Regions from separate parts of the Homo sapiens genome. Here all the other regions are linked to region 1. The links are contacts of gene promoters, found by promoter capture Hi-C in blood cells and fetal thymus (Javierre and others, 2016). All regions are on one chromosome and are shown on one strand. Each heading gives the region's core, a stretch centred on a gene start or on the middle of the fragment in contact. The rest is flanking DNA. Distances are from core to core; before and after follow the strand shown.

Region 1 (5,098 bases), core at 1,875-4,374:
TTCAAGCCACACTGACTTGTTTGCTGTTTCGCAAGAAGGCAAGCTTGCTCTCATTTCAGAGTTTTTACCTATTTCTTCTGCTTAGAATGTTCTTTCTTAAAATCTCGGAATAGCTGACTTCTTGTCACTTAAGCCTCTATTAAAATATTGTGTCACAAATACCACACACCTCATTCCTGATCACCCTATCAATAAAATGGCTACTCTTATCCTTAGGTTGCTGCCTAACTCATTAACCTGTCAGTTTCTTCAAATCACTTACCGTTAACTGTCTGCCACTACTACCAAAAAAATGTATGGTCTGTTAAAAACTCACTACTGTATTCCAAATACCTAAAACAGTACCAGGCATTTAATAATAATAGATAACCCTGTGCTACATATTTAAGTGCTTTAGATGTACTTATTCAGTTAACCCTTACAACAACCTTGTCCAAACAGTGGGCAAGCACTATTGCTATCTCCAACGAACAGATGGAAAAAAGAGGCTGAGGGAGGTTAACTTAAAATTTGCCCAAAGTCACAGAGCAGGCAAATGGCACTGCCAGGATCTGAACCCAGGCAGTCTAGCTCTTGACTACCACACATACTGCCTACTGTTTCTGATATTAGACATAAAGGAAACACTTAAAAAAACCTGTTAAATGGGATGGGCGCGGTGGCTCATGCTTGTAATCCCAGCACTTTGGGAGGCCAAGGCAGGCGGACCACCTGAAGTCAGGAGTTCGAGACCAGCCTGACCAACGTGGTGAAACCCTGTCTCTACTAAAAATACAAAAATTAGCCAGATGTAGTAGCAGGCGCCTGTATTCCCAGCTACTTGGGAGGCTGAGGTGGGAGAATCGCTTGAACCCGGGAGGAGGAGGCTGCAGTGAGCCAAGATCCCACCACTGTACTCCAGCCTGGGTGACAAGAGCAAGACTCTGTCAAAAAACAAACAAACAAAACAAAACAAAAAAACCCTGTTAAATGAATAAATTTTAAAGGAAAAAAACTAATCTAAATATGCAAATCTGACAAAGTATACTTATTATAGTAACATATTATTTATAGCAGTGCTCGTCCCATTTTCACAGCATGGCCTTCAAAAAACGTATCTGTACTAAACACTGGCAAGCAGAGATAATTCCCAGGTACAGGGAACCAGTCTGGAGCATTTGGAGCTGAACCACTGTGAGAGCTGAGATCAATATACTGGCAGAAGTGGAGGCCATTCCTAGTTCTGAGAAGCTCTAGTTGTCAATTAAAAGATTCTAAAAACAATGCGATGGCATCAAATTCAGGCTTGGAATCCAACTTTCTAGTCCTAGCATTGATAAATAAGCCAAAGAATTTGTAAACAAAGGTAATTAAAATGTTATCATTTATCTCACCAAACACTGGCACATATCAAATGATACCAGCTTCTAGCTAATTAAACGGATAGCTATTAAAAAAACTGATTCCAATTACCAAGGCAAATCAGAAGATAGCTGTGTTCTAAGAGATCACCTACCTAATAAAAAACACACACATACACAATATACCCTGTTTGGGCATTGTAACAAAATATAAAAATTAACAAAATTTGTTTCTTTTCTTTTTTTTTGAGACAGGGTCTCTCTCTGTCACCCAGACTGGAGTGCAGTGGCACGATCTCGGCTCACTGCAGCCTCGATCTCTCTAGACTCAAGCGATCCTCTCATCTTAGCCTCCCGAGTAGCTGGGACTACAGGCGTGCATCACCTACGCCCAGCTAATTTTTTTGTATTTTGTAGAGACGCGGTTTCGCCATGTTGCCCAGGCTAGTCTAAGAACTCCTGAGCTCAAGCGACCCGCCTGCTTCGACCTCCCAAAGCGCTGGGATTGCAAGCGTTTGAGCCACTGCGCCCGGCCAAAGTTTTTTATTATCTACTTTCCTATCATTTTATCCCTAGTACACTTTCACTTGCTGTTTTCCTTGCATGGCGGGGGCAATAGGCCTGGTGGGTAAATCTGAATAAAAACGAGAACAGCTGCAGTCTAACTAGCTCTGCCACTTAATGGCGTGACTGGCCCTTTTCAGAAAGTTGTGCCTCACTGGAATGTTTCAAAAATATGTAAAAATAATATGATCTATAAGACAATCAAAAACGCTTCAAATAAGGCGCGGGTTATATTACATAATATCCCTCCACTCTGGCAGTGTTGGCAATGGCAGACAACACCATGAAACTGAAAGCATCCCTTCAGTCTGAAACTGGCGAAAAGGCTACAGGTTTACAAAGTCTCACATCAGCTGAAAATAATACATCCATCAATTCTATCTTTGGCATGGTGTATTCTGACAGTGGTGGATAGAATGTAACCACTTGCTTTATTAATTATGAGATGATTGAAAGAGGAACTACTAACCAAGAAATTGGTAAAGGCCTAGCACAAATATTTTCCCCCTAATTTTACAGGGGCGGGAAAGACCTGAAGAACTTCAAAACCAAGTGGGAAATAAGAATGGGTAACTTGTGTATTTTTTTTTCCTGGCTTTTTTTTTTTCCTTCTTCCGAAGTCAACAAAGGCCTCAGGGTGTCCAGATTGCTACTGATTCATTCTTACCAAGTTCCTTCTGGTAATAGTTTTCAAAAGAGGATCTCAGTGGAGGTGCACAGTGGCGCTCCTAGCTTTCTTTTTACGGAAAGGAGGAAAGGTGCTTGGCACCAGTCGGGGAAGCTCACGCCAAGTGACCGAGACCAGAACTCGCTCTCGACCGGAGCCCCCCAAGTCTGGTGACTTGGAGGAAGGAGGATCCCGAATCCCAGCCAGAACTGAGAAAGCCCTCAAAGGTGCGGAAAGGGGACTTTTCCCTCAGGAAAGCCGGCAACAGCAGAGGCCCTAGCCCACGTCGCCACACCCACTCCGCGCGCGCCCCTCGCCTCCCAGGGCCGGCTCTGCTCGGCCCCGCGGCCTCTCGGGCGCCCCCAGCCCGCCGGAAAGAAAGAAGCAGAAACCCGGAGCCTGGGTCCCACCCGCGACCCCTCACCTTCGCCCTTCTCGTCCTCTCACCTGCCAGTCCCCCAGGAAGAACAGGACGCCTCTTCCCCCTGATGGGCGGCCACAGGCTCGGATCCTTCCATTGCCGCCTGAGACACCGCCGCCGGCTACTGGAAGGTAGGAAGGGGCGGGACCGTGGGGGGGTCAAGGGGCGGGCGGAGACGTCATCAGAGGGGGCGGGCCTGGGGAAGCTAGGAGCCCGGCAGCGCCTTCCCGTCAACCCTAGGGGCGTCCTGGTTTCCGGTTTGGGTGTGGCCGCATGGCGTGCTGTGGTGCAGGTGGCCGAAGGGGGCGTTACTGTTGCGACTGGCATCCGCATCCGGCAGATGTAGATGGAACCAAAGTCCAGAAGTTACGCGTCACCCTTGCTCTACAGCCAAACATGCAGGACTCTAGTAACCCGCGAAATGATGGGATAGCGTTGCAAATCCTTAAAAGAGTCTTAACGGTAAGAAGAGGAAACAGCTTTATTTTATAAATAAACTGAAGGCTGCTAATAGCTCCAGATTGTCAGTGAGGGGATACCACTTAAAGATGTTATACATTTAATAAATAATTTTGGGAGTCCACTACATGTGAGGCGCTGCCTCAGATTTAATAGAATCATGTGACTTTTAGTGCCATAGATGTCGTTAGATCATCCAGTTTGGTCCCTTAAATTTGTGGGTAAGGGAAAGGAACTTCCGGTCAGTGCAAGTGACTTGGTCAAGGTTATAGAGCTAGTCACTGTTAGATTACCAGAACACATATCTAAAAAGTTCTCATATAATTCTTTTTCATTTACTTCCGTGTCACCTTTCTTAGAAAGCAAAAATGAGTTGGACACAATAACATTAGGATTTGTCTTTCACTAAATAACACTGTATATTTGAATAAACATCTGCAGGATTTTTAAAATTAGCATATACTTTGGGTATTATGTAATTTTCTGTGATGTATCATATTTTTAATTAGAAATTTTTCCTCTCATATGGAGATGAGGGTCCAGGCAAAACTGTATTATCCTTCGTGCCCTCTATTCTCTTCAAAATTGCACATCTTAAAATACCTGGAAGCTTTATGTTGCTCACCTATAGCATTATCCGTGTTCCTCAATCCAGTTGTGAACCTTTTCCACATTAAAATGTTCTTGATCTGTGTTCTATTCTTTCAAGGCTCTGCTCTAGCACTAAGATAATGCTACAGGACTGAAGATAATGAAAAAGATTGAAGAAAGCAGAAACAGAACAAAAATCAGATTATTTCAAAGTTTCTTTCCTTGTAAAGGTTAAAACAGAGCATACTTCCTTATTATGCCCACTAGGTTAACTAGAATCTCCTGTTTTTTTAAAAAAAACTGGCTCATTTTTTCAAAATCCACTTTAATTACATGGTGCTTAGCACAAGCAACTCCATTCTGGTTTGATCTGATGGGGCCTAGTGTAGAAGGCTAGGCCAAAACAATGGCCTGCCATTACCCACGCTTCTTCATATTTTAACATCCATGAATAGAGGATGAATTTTTAAAAAATAAATACAGAAAACGATGCATCTTAAAATTGAGGGCATGTTAGATTTGATAAAATATGGTGTGAATTATTTCAGGCATGTAACAAGCAACCAGATTTAACAGATTTTAATGTTTTGTCACATATGTAAAATGGGAAAGAAAACTAGGCGATCACAGCTTTTTGACAGTGAGGCTTTATGTCATAAGAAAGTAGAATGACATATTGAGGAAACTTAAGGGAAAAATATGTAGGCCAAAGATTTTACATTCAGCAAAACTAATATACAAAAGGTACAAACTGTTATCAACAATTGATATATCAATTTGGTGAGACTAGTGTTTTCATGAGCCCCTCCTTAATAATTAATTGGAGAAAGTGTCTGACAATCAGAATTATTACAGAAACATTGATCTAAGGATTGACTCGGTTTCTTTACAGCAAATCATAATCTGTTGCATTTATTAGCTTTTGTGTTTCTTGTAGTTTATTCTTTATTACTAATTCTCCTGAGTTCTGTCACCTCATTTCTGAGGTTTTTCTAATTCAGAATCAAGTTCTTCCATATCTTTTATCATTTCTCTAATGTCATTTAGCTAGTTTCA
Region 2 (5,098 bases), core at 1,667-4,166, 750 kb after region 1:
GTTAATTCTAAAAACCTTATCTTTGGTTTTTATTATATGTACCATTATATATTGAAAAGCTTAGCAGATCCTCACATCAATGTCCAGAAAAATTATCTCCAGCATTATGAAGACACTTATATCAGTTGTAGAACATCTTATAGAAGAATAGGGAAGAGAGGTAATATTTTGGGTAAGAATGTAGCACAAGCAAAAGGAGAGTCAGTGACAGAGTAGTGACAGCTTGTCTCTAAATGCTAATTAATTATATTGATCCTCTTTGTTTTCTCAGCTTAAACAAAATAAAGTGCATGGGTACCTTCAAAACAACACATGATAGAAGGGAATGGATTCACAAATGACAATAGCTGTGTTTACCTGGACACCTAGTTAATTCACTAGTTTAACAATATTGGCCAGTCTGTAATGTACATCCCAATAAACTGACCAATAAAAGGATTGCCTTAGCATTATGGAAATATAGCTAAAGTATAAGTTTAAGGGCTTCCATAAATTAATCAGATTATTATTATACATAGGCATTTATGTATTATCAGGTATAAAAGACATTTGTTCAAACTAGGAGATATTCAAATAATGATAAAAATCATCTATGACTAGCCACCTGGGAACTATACTTTTCTAGTTTAAAGCCATAAGATGCCTCATTGCTTTGACATTGCTAAGTATAAAAAGGACTGTAGAATAATTTGTTGGTGATAAAAATGTCTGTGGTCACATTGCTATTTTACTTATTATGCAATGTAAGATATCTACTGTGGATTTCTAACAGACTCAAGTCCACAAATATATTTCTCCTGACTGTTCCTGACATTGCACAGAATGGCACAGGGAACACAGACCAACACACAAAAAGAAGAGTAACTCTTTGAAAACATTTTCTTCACACTGTAGTTTAGGACAAAAGTATTGCAGAATAAAATTTATGGTTTTAGAAAAAACAGCAACAAAAATTTGAATGAAAGACAAACTTTTGCTTTTTCGAACTTTTGGAAGACAAAATTATGACTCTAATGTTTCATTCCTTCTTCTTTCCTTGCCATTCAAATTTCTACTAAAGTGTAAGATATATCATAAAATTTGATAATATACACTGCAATGCCCATTGAGCAGACTGAACAAAGGCCATTAATATAGCAAGGAAGACATATTTTTAATATCTTTAGTCTGACATTCACTTGTCCTTTATTTACATATGCGTAATCTCTTAATTTTCTACAAATTGTAGCTTATACTCACAGAGTTTTAAAAAAATTCATGATAGCCCTCTCATTTTCTGTATCTACAATTCTAGGTTATATATTACCCTAAGTATACAGGTCCATAGGCCTATATAAAGAATTTATTTGAATTTGAAATCTTGATTTTGTGAAAGAAACAAATGTCTTGAGATTTTGTTAAAATAAGTCTGGCAAGTCTTGGCCCAAAGTTACACTGAGAGGGAATCTGTTTTCCTTTGAAAACAAAAGTATTATCAATATTTTCATAAAATGTGAGTATAAAATAGAACATAGTATTATTAAACCATATTAACATTTCATTGGCAGAGATTTCACTTTGTTAAAGGCTGTATAAGAACAGCTTAATCTCATAACCCAGAAGTTTTTACTGTTATTATTGCCTCTTTATTTTTGGCTAAAGTGTAATTTTTAAATGAGTATACAGAAACCTAATACTATATATTGAATGACTTTAAGTAAATAAATATCCATGCTATTCATCAGGATAAGTGACCTAGTGACCAGAATAAAAAGGATATATGTTGGTAGCCCCTAGCACAGTATGCCTCAGCACAGAGGTTTCTTGGGTTACTGCTAGTGAATGATTCCAATTCTTGGCCGTCTGATCCCACACATTACATAAATTCCAACTCCTGCATCTGTTTAGGTGAGCTGTTGGCTAAATGGATATGTAATGAAATTAAACAATATTTTTAAGGTGCTTTTTAGGATGGGTTATACCCCCTCTTTTTCTCCTCCTTTCCTTGCAACCTGCCCTCTACTCATTCTTTTTATGCATATTTTTGAGAGCCTGAATATGCTAGGAAGAGGGTTTCAGTCTGTTAAGAATTCACAACCTTGTGGAGTTGAGATACAATTAATAAAATTTCTAGTATAATGAGGTAAGTATTATGATACCATGAAAGCACAGAGGAGAAACACCTACTCTGTTTTGTAAGGATTAGGGAAAGCAATTTAGAGATTATACCTAACACAAACACACAGATATTTGCATAGTATGTGAGCACACGTTTAAAAAAATGTAATTTTCACCCTAGAAATAAGACAGTAGTGATTCAGCGTGAGTTGATATGCCTGTCTCCACTATAATGAAAGAAATATAACGTCTTAAGTATGGGTTGACATTTGCAAACTAACTGATTTTTCTAGAAGAATGATGCCACATAATTTAAAAATATTAATGCTTTTCTAATCTCTAGTGTATTTTCAATGGCTAACATAGTTAAAACCAAAGTGAAATTTTTATTATGTACATAATCGAATGCAAATTGTGTCAGGCTAGTTTAAAAAATATGAATGTCAGTCCTGGCTTGGCAATTTAATAACTATTTGGTTTTTGACCAAGTCATTTAACTTAATTAAACCTCAGTTTCTTCTCTGTAAACAAGAGAAGGTCAAGCAAGATAGTTTTAAAATTTCTTTCCAAATTTATACGTCTGACTTTTCTAAAAAATCTGGTTTACACTAATACTTAAAAGAAATTATCTTAAAACAATAAATTATAAATTTATTTTTTGCTCTTGCTCCCTGTAAAATTTGTCCTTGTCCTGCTAGTCACATATAGTCCCCACTACACCAGCCAAGACTTGTCAGACTGGTTCTGTTGAGATCATCAGTGACTTATTTCCTCACTTCAATTCAGCCCACAAAGTCATTGATAGAGCTGGATTCACACACTTGGATGTAGACCTCGACCTTCACAGGACTCTTCATTGCTGGTTGGCAATGATGTATCGGTGAGTTAGTTCCCTTTTTCTTTCTAGAAGTCTTAAGGTAACTTTTAGTTTAAAACAGTATGAGCCACACCAAGGAATGTGTAGATCTACAGTTTATTATTTTTTTAAATATAGAAACATATTTTTGAGATTTTACATAAAATTATGTCAAGAAAAAGATTTCTATTCTTTCTGTATTAGTGTTTCCTGTCCTCTTTTGTTGTATCCCATGTGTTTTTCTGTTTACTTTTAGAAGGTTTCTACACAATGTAAAGGTACATGGTGTTTGACAGCTGTCTTTTAGTTAGTTTGGCCATATGTTTCAAGAAAGATATAACATATTTTTAGCTTGGGCTTTGTTTGTCTTATTGAGAAACACTTTTATTTTAGAAGGTGTACATGAAAAAAAGTCTGAAATAATGCAGAAAAAAATGTTTATTTCTGTAAGTAGTTAAAAATTTAAAAACTCTAGATGTTTTGAAAGAATCAGAAACAACTGAAGAAAATAATATGACTAAATTATTATAGCCTGATTTAAAAAATAAATCCACTGATATGCCTGGCCATAGTCAACTTCTCCAAAGATAAGTCATGATCATTTTGAGGTTTTCTTTCAAAGTTAGAAACTAATCAGTAACAAGGTTTTGGGGTACTAGTTTTGTCTTTGAAAATAATTTTATCTCCTGATTAAAATTTATTTTCTCTGATTCTCATATTGGCATATCATTTTTTATTAGTTTTTACTTTGAGAACAGTTTGAAAATGTTAAACTTTGAATGAAATCTGTGGTCTTCATTTAACATGGAAAAACAGGTTCTGTCATCAGTTGAAAGTTCTACATACTTGTTATTAGAAGTTTAATACTCTTCTGTACATATCCATGAAGCAACTAAAAGCTACGGATACTAAACATTTTGTTGGGCTTATCAAGGCTCCCTGCCTTTTGCAAGTATTTCTTTACAACCAATGATGGTTTTGTATCCTATTCTCTTTTTCTCATTGACTTTACTATAGAAAACAGTGCTTCAAGAAAGCTTCCAATAAACTTAACATACTAAATAGATTACAAGCCTTATCTATGGTATATGTCAGAGATTTGGAATTTGGTTATAAATGTGTAGAGGCGGTATAATGTGGGAATACTGGAGTGAATTTTTCTGAGTGTAGTCTCTAATTTGAAGCAAAAGATGTGACTATTTTTAAAAATCCTGCTGCAGAATAGATGCAAATAATCTCTCATGGAAAAAACCAAAAACCAAAACCAACCATCTAACAAACAAAAACGTCTTCCTGATCTGAAGATTGTATGAAAGATGAAGCACATCTATGTTTGAGTGGGTCTAGATGAGATAAAATGTTAAGAGCATGTACTAGAGCAAAAAAGGATTAAGTTTATTATTCACATTTGCTGTCGTAAATGTGCCAACAGGAGTGTTATCGAGGAAGAGGGATAATTGAAATCCTAGGATATAAGTAGACAATTTCTTCTTAAGGTCATTGGTTTTAACTCAGAAAGAATACAAGAAACAGGTGGGGAATTTTATTAAATAGCATGCTCCTTCCTTTTCAGTCAGATTTCGGATAGCCTTCTCCCTGACTCTACCTGAATAAGAATCAGTTTTTTTTTTTTTTTTTTAGAATTTAAGGGTAGGAAAAAATTTAAACTGGGTAAGCATTATTCTTCTTGTACTGCCATTTTCTCCAAACTCTTATTTTGGACTATTCTTTGAGCATGAAGAGATCAACACATGAATTTTATAAACACACAACAGAAAGTTAAAGAAAACTCTATCAGGCATAAGTTTATAGAGAACAGATTTGGGAAGAGAAGAATGTGTCCATTAAATATATTTATTGGTCATAGGGGTGTATACTAACTGTATTTATCAGCAACCACTGAGAAGAAGTGAAAATAAGCAGACTGAATTTATAGGCATCGACATCCACACATATTGAGATGGCTGAAGGTGAAATGAGTAATATTCAAATGACACAAAATGGACAACTTTAATTTTTACCTAATAGGGTAAGCACTGTCTCTAAAAGTGTGGTCCGTAGACCCCTGCATTACAGTGCTTATTAAAAATAGGAATCTCCAGCTCTCATCCCAGAAATTCTAATGAATCTCTGGTTGAGACATGG
Region 3 (5,098 bases), core at 708-3,207, 670 kb after region 1:
AGTTTGAAGATTTTAATTCTCACCACAAGTGAATTACGATTAGATTTTTTTTTTTTTTTTTGAGATGGAGTCTCACTCTATCACCCAGGCTGGAGTGCAGTGGCCAATCTCTGCTCACCAGCAACCTCCGCCTCCCGGGTTCAAGAGATTCTCGTGCCTCAGCCTCCAGAGTAGCTGGGATTTGAGGCATACGCCACCACACTAGGCTAATTTTTGTATTTTTAGTAGAGATGGGGTTTTTGTCCTATTGGCCAGGCTGGTCTCGAACTCCCGACCTCAGGTGATTCTCTGGCCTCGGCCTCCCAAATTGCTGGGATTATAGGGGTTAGCCCTCGCGCACGGCCGCAATTAAGTCTTTAGACGATCTGTTTCCCCAGTATTTCCCAGCAATGTATTTATGAATCATCTCGCATCTCGCATGGTGAGAAACTTAACATGAACGTTCAACCATGTAAAATTATTACCAGTGAAATAAATAACTTAATGTCTAGTGACCTCTTACTGTAGCTCTGTATTGGTAGATAGACACTTCTTTTTTGATCTTTCAAGTATATAGTAAAAAAAATGTTCCTTTTACAGTTTTCAATTTTTTTTTTTTTTTTTTTTTTTGAGATGGAGTCTCGATCTGTCTCCCAGGCTGGAGCGCAGTGGCCTGATCTCGGCTCACTGCAACATCCGCCTCCCCGGTTGAAGCGATTCTCCTGCCTCGGCTTCCCAAGGAGCTGGGATTACAGGCATGCATCACCACGCCTGGCTAATTTTTGTATTTTCTTTAAATTAGAGACAGGGTTTCACCATGTTGGCCAGGCTATTCTCGAACTCCTGACCTCAAGTGATCTGCCCGCCTCAGACTCCCAGAGTGCTGGGATTACAGGTGTGAGCCACCGCGCCTGGCTAATTTTTCATGTTTTTAGTAGAGACGGGGTTTCTCCATGTTGGCCAAGCTGGTCTCAAACTACTGACCTCAAGTGATCCACCCGCCTTGGCCTCCCAAAGTGCTGGGATTACAGGCGTAAGCCATCGCGCCCTGCCTTGTTTTCAAAATTAAACTTAGTTGAAGCCTGTAAGACTTAAAATGAAAGCAAGATTATGTGACTTGATTATGATGCAGCCAAATGAATTTAGATGCAAATGCTAGACTTGAAATGTAAGTGTACGAATATACAGCAGTATAATTTTATGAGGTCTGGGGGTTACTTGTGCATGAGCCCAGGATTTAGATATCTGGCTACTCACAGTAAGATCCATGGAAGGAAATAAATTCTATAAGGAAGCACTGTATAACTCAAAGAAACTAGAGAGGCCCAAATGTCCAAAGCTGCCATTTCGCTTGCTGGAATTTGCTGGTGGAATAACTACCCTTCCCCGAATTAATGAGGCTAAATGAATTCCTGGGGAACCCTCAGGCTGTCAGTGTAACACCTCCCACATCTTTTTTCTCCAGCAGGTGGCATGTACAGCACCATCCTGAAATGGTGATAACTTTATTATTATTATTGTCACTATTCATGGGGCTAACCATCTTCCCTTTTCTTCCCAAATAAGTACATGGAGTTTTAGCATAGGTATTAAAGAAGGCTCGTCAGCATGATGGCTTAAGTCTGTAATCCCAGCTACTGGGGAGGCTGAGGTGGGAACCGAGGAGTTCAAGGCTACAGTGAGCTATGATCATGCCACTGCACTATAGCCTGAGTGACAGAAGGAGACCCCGTCTGTAAAAACAATTTAAAGAGAGAAAGAGAAAGATAGAGAGAGAGAGAATTCTTGTTTCAATGACCTAGAGGAAAAAAGATGTTATAAGTTCGCTTTTGAAACTGGAACATTAATTTTTCACCATATTAAGACAAGACCCTGTATATACACGTTAAACTTAAACAGCTATCTTTTAGGCTGTTGAATGCAAGAAGGTAAGTTTAAGTACCATCTAGTGGTAGGCATCACCCTCCACCTAGTGGCATCCCTCTCCATCTAGTGGCAAGATAGGCGAATTGAAAGCAAGTGCCAAAGAAGAAATAGTCTGATACTGAAATGTTGAACAAAAGTTTAAAAAGACAACAGTATTGACCACGCCTCCTCCAAGTCCCAGCGAGCCCGTGTACAACCTGTCCCGACTCCAGCCGCCTCTTCAGCTCGCCATGGATCCCAACTGCTCCTGTGCCGCCAGTGACTCCTGCACCTGCGCCGGCTCCTGCAAGTGCAAAGAGTGCAAATGCACCTCCTGCAAGAAAAGCTGCTGCTCCTGCTGTCCTGTGGGCTGTGCCAAGTGTGCCCAGGGCTGCATCTGCAAAGGGGCGTCGGACAAGTGCAGCTGCTGTGCCTGATGCTGGGACAGCCCTGCCCCCAGATGTAAATAACGCGACCTCTACAAACCTGGATTTTTTATGTACAACCCTGACCCTGACGTTTGCTACATTCCTTTTTCTATGAAATAATGTGAATGATAATAAAACAGCTTTGACTTGAAAAAAAAAAAAAAAAGAGAATAGTATTAAAGTACCAGATAAACTTTACCACTGTTTTATTAAATTTTAATATAAATAAACTATGTAAAATAATTCATGATTGTAGCAGGTTATCTAATTTGGAAATAAAAAGAATACTCTTGCTGGATGGTAAACAGACTATTCCTAGCATGAGGTCTTTTCTTGGAATTATTTTATCTTAGTCCTTACCTAGAAGGACTTAGGAAGTGACAAACAGTGCTAAAAACCTGAGAGAAAAGTTAAGACATAGTGACAGAATTTTGCAGGACAAAAGAGTGATATTAGTACAGTCTTTCTTATGTTAAACCTTTTATGATCTTGAAAATCTTATCTTTAAATCTTAAGAAGCTGTTGGATTATACTTTAATCATTGCAGGGAAAAGATTTAGAAATTATGTTGTCAACCAGTTTAGATCAAATTGACATCAGAATTGGGTCTTTAGGAGGAGATTTTTGGTACAATAACTTTGTAATCTGAGGATACTAATCAGGGTATAATAGTACACTTAATTAGTATGATTAGCTGATAGTCTCAAGTTAGGACGACAGTCATTGAGCCCATATCAGGTAGTTAACAGTGAGCATCTATCTGTTCTAATATGTTCAGCATTCTGTTAGGATTAGTTGGTGTCCATGCTGTCCTTGTTATTAAATCATCTGAATATCATCCAAGACCATAAGGGACTGTATGTTCACAGGAAAAAAATAACAAAATCACAAAATGTGAAGAATGTATGTATTATGAAAAGAAGGTAGGCAAACAGATATCTTTAAAAGAGGAAGCTAAAAAAATAAAAATAAAAGAGGAAGCCAAATGAATGGATCAGATAGAAAAAAATGTTCAAAAGTGTAATAATTGTTTTAAAAGGACTAAAAATATTTTTAGAGACCCAAAGGAGGAAATTAGAAACATGAATCAGAAAAATCAGTTATGAAGGACCAACTGGAGATATTCAGTATGAAAAACCTAATAACTGAAATAACTCAGTAAGTATGGTATTAGATAAACCTTATAGATGTTTTTTAGATACTGCTTTTCAGAGTGAACACACTTGAAATACAAATTAGTGAGCTGAAAGATCAGGTCAATCAACTCTTCTAGAAGGACTCAGGAAGGACAAAGCAGTGCTAAAAAACTGAGAGAAAAGGTAAGATACAGTGACAGAATTTTGCAGGACGAAAGAGTGATATTAGTACAGTCTTTCTTCAGTATCTTCAAGGATTGGTTCAAGGACCCACTGCCTTCATAGTAAAATCCAGGAATGCTCAATTCCCTTATATAAAATGGCCTGTTTGCTCATAATCTACATACATCCTCCTGTATACATTCAATTATCTCTATATTACATATGATACCTAATACAATAGGAATGCTATGTAAATAGTTGTTATGCTGCTTTGGTTTTTATTTGTATTTTTTTAATTGTTAATTTGGTTTTTTCTTGAATATTTTCGGTCCCAGGTTGTTTGAATCTGTAAATGCAGAACCTGAAGATACATAGGGCTGAGTGTATTTGATAGAAAGAGGACAGAGAAATTGTTGAAATAAGAGAAATTTGAAGCTAGGATGCTATATCCAATTAATTCAATGTAAGGCTGAAATAAGTTATTGTAAGGTACACAAGGCCTCAGAAGGCTGACAAAAATTCTGTTTGAAAACACTTTGGGAGGATGTGCTCAAGTAAGACAAGGAATCAATCCAGAAGTTAACCAAGAGATGTGAAAAGTGTGGAACAAGTGAAGCTTTGTAACGTGTTTAGATGAAAAACTGCCAGAGGCATCTTTAATATAAACAGCTTCAGGAAGAGAGACACACTGTATTGCTTTCTTTATCCCAGAGATTTTGGAGCGTATACATAGGTGTCATGCATGTCGTATGTATATGTGCGTATTTGTTGGAGGAACAAAGCCCAACCCCCACCCCCGACAAAATCCCATGAGTTTATTTACACATTGTACATGAGAATTTGCGCTATTTCCTATCTTCAGACGTGATATTTAAAATATATAACAATTAGTACAACATAGGGCACTGACCAATCAGAACAGACACCAGCCAAACTGCTAGAGCAGCTTCCTGGATGCTGTGCCCTTCATGTCCGGATTATGAGTACACCTCTGGTGGGCTGGGGCAGAGGCATGGGGCAGGGTCTCAAAGTGGCTTCTATTTACCATGTATATAGGATTGTTTCAATATTTTAACAACTTGTATGGTCATGTATACTGACTGAATAGCAACTCTGCTATGAGACATAAGACATGTTTGATGACTTCATGCAATTTTCTGAAACATGCTCTTTTTTTTTTTAAAATAAACCTTGGGCAGATGTTATGTTAAGACAGTCTCTGTAGTAAAATAATTTGCCATATTGGAGAGGCTTATCATCTTTACAATGAAAGTCAGAAAATATAAGTAAAACATATTAAGTTGTACTAAAGCAGAGAGAATAATCAAATATAATCTTACTCAAGATATTTTCATGACAACTCAGCTTGCAAGATGTTTTCCTAGGCTTACTGGGTCATAAATATTCGGTATCATTTTTTTTCCTATATTTTAAAGAAAAGGAATTTGGAACATGTAAACTATAAATCTAAGTTTTAAAAAATCTAAA

What was found. The method cuts DNA at HindIII sites, captures the fragments that hold promoters and counts their contacts. A CHiCAGO score of 5 or more calls a contact.
Region 2: a contact is called between the fragment with the promoter of TMPRSS11E here and the fragment with the promoter of UBA6 in region 1, in 6 of 17 cell types (non-activated CD4 T cells, total CD4 T cells, total CD8 T cells and 3 more). The highest score is 12.0, in non-activated CD4 T cells.
Region 3: a contact is called between a fragment that was not itself captured here and the fragment with the promoter of UBA6 in region 1, in 2 of 17 cell types (non-activated CD4 T cells and total CD4 T cells). The highest score is 6.9, in non-activated CD4 T cells.

Annotation. Positions count from the first base shown.
Region 1 is chr4:67,698,031-67,703,128 of GRCh38, forward strand. UBA6 (ubiquitin like modifier activating enzyme 6) reads right to left here and starts at 3,125. Exons shown (of 33, transcript NM_018227.6): 1 at 3,019-3,125. The coding sequence starts at 3,089. It overlaps UBA6-DT (UBA6 divergent transcript), which reads left to right and starts at 3,248. Exons shown (of 2, transcript NR_015439.1): 1 at 3,248-3,454. RefSeq lists silencers at 2,849-3,018, 3,149-3,218. The HindIII fragment of the contact is 4,018 bases long and covers 42-4,059 here.
Region 2 is chr4:68,444,547-68,449,644 of GRCh38, forward strand. It overlaps TMPRSS11E (transmembrane serine protease 11E), which reads left to right and starts at 2,917. Exons shown (of 10, transcript NM_014058.4): 1 at 2,917-2,977. The coding sequence starts at 2,967. The HindIII fragment of the contact is 3,931 bases long and covers 58-3,988 here.
Region 3 is chr4:68,374,188-68,379,285 of GRCh38, forward strand. It overlaps the pseudogene MT2P1. Among named protein-coding and RNA genes, the nearest start is that of YTHDC1, 27 kb to the left of the region's middle. The HindIII fragment of the contact is 4,533 bases long and covers 1-4,224 here.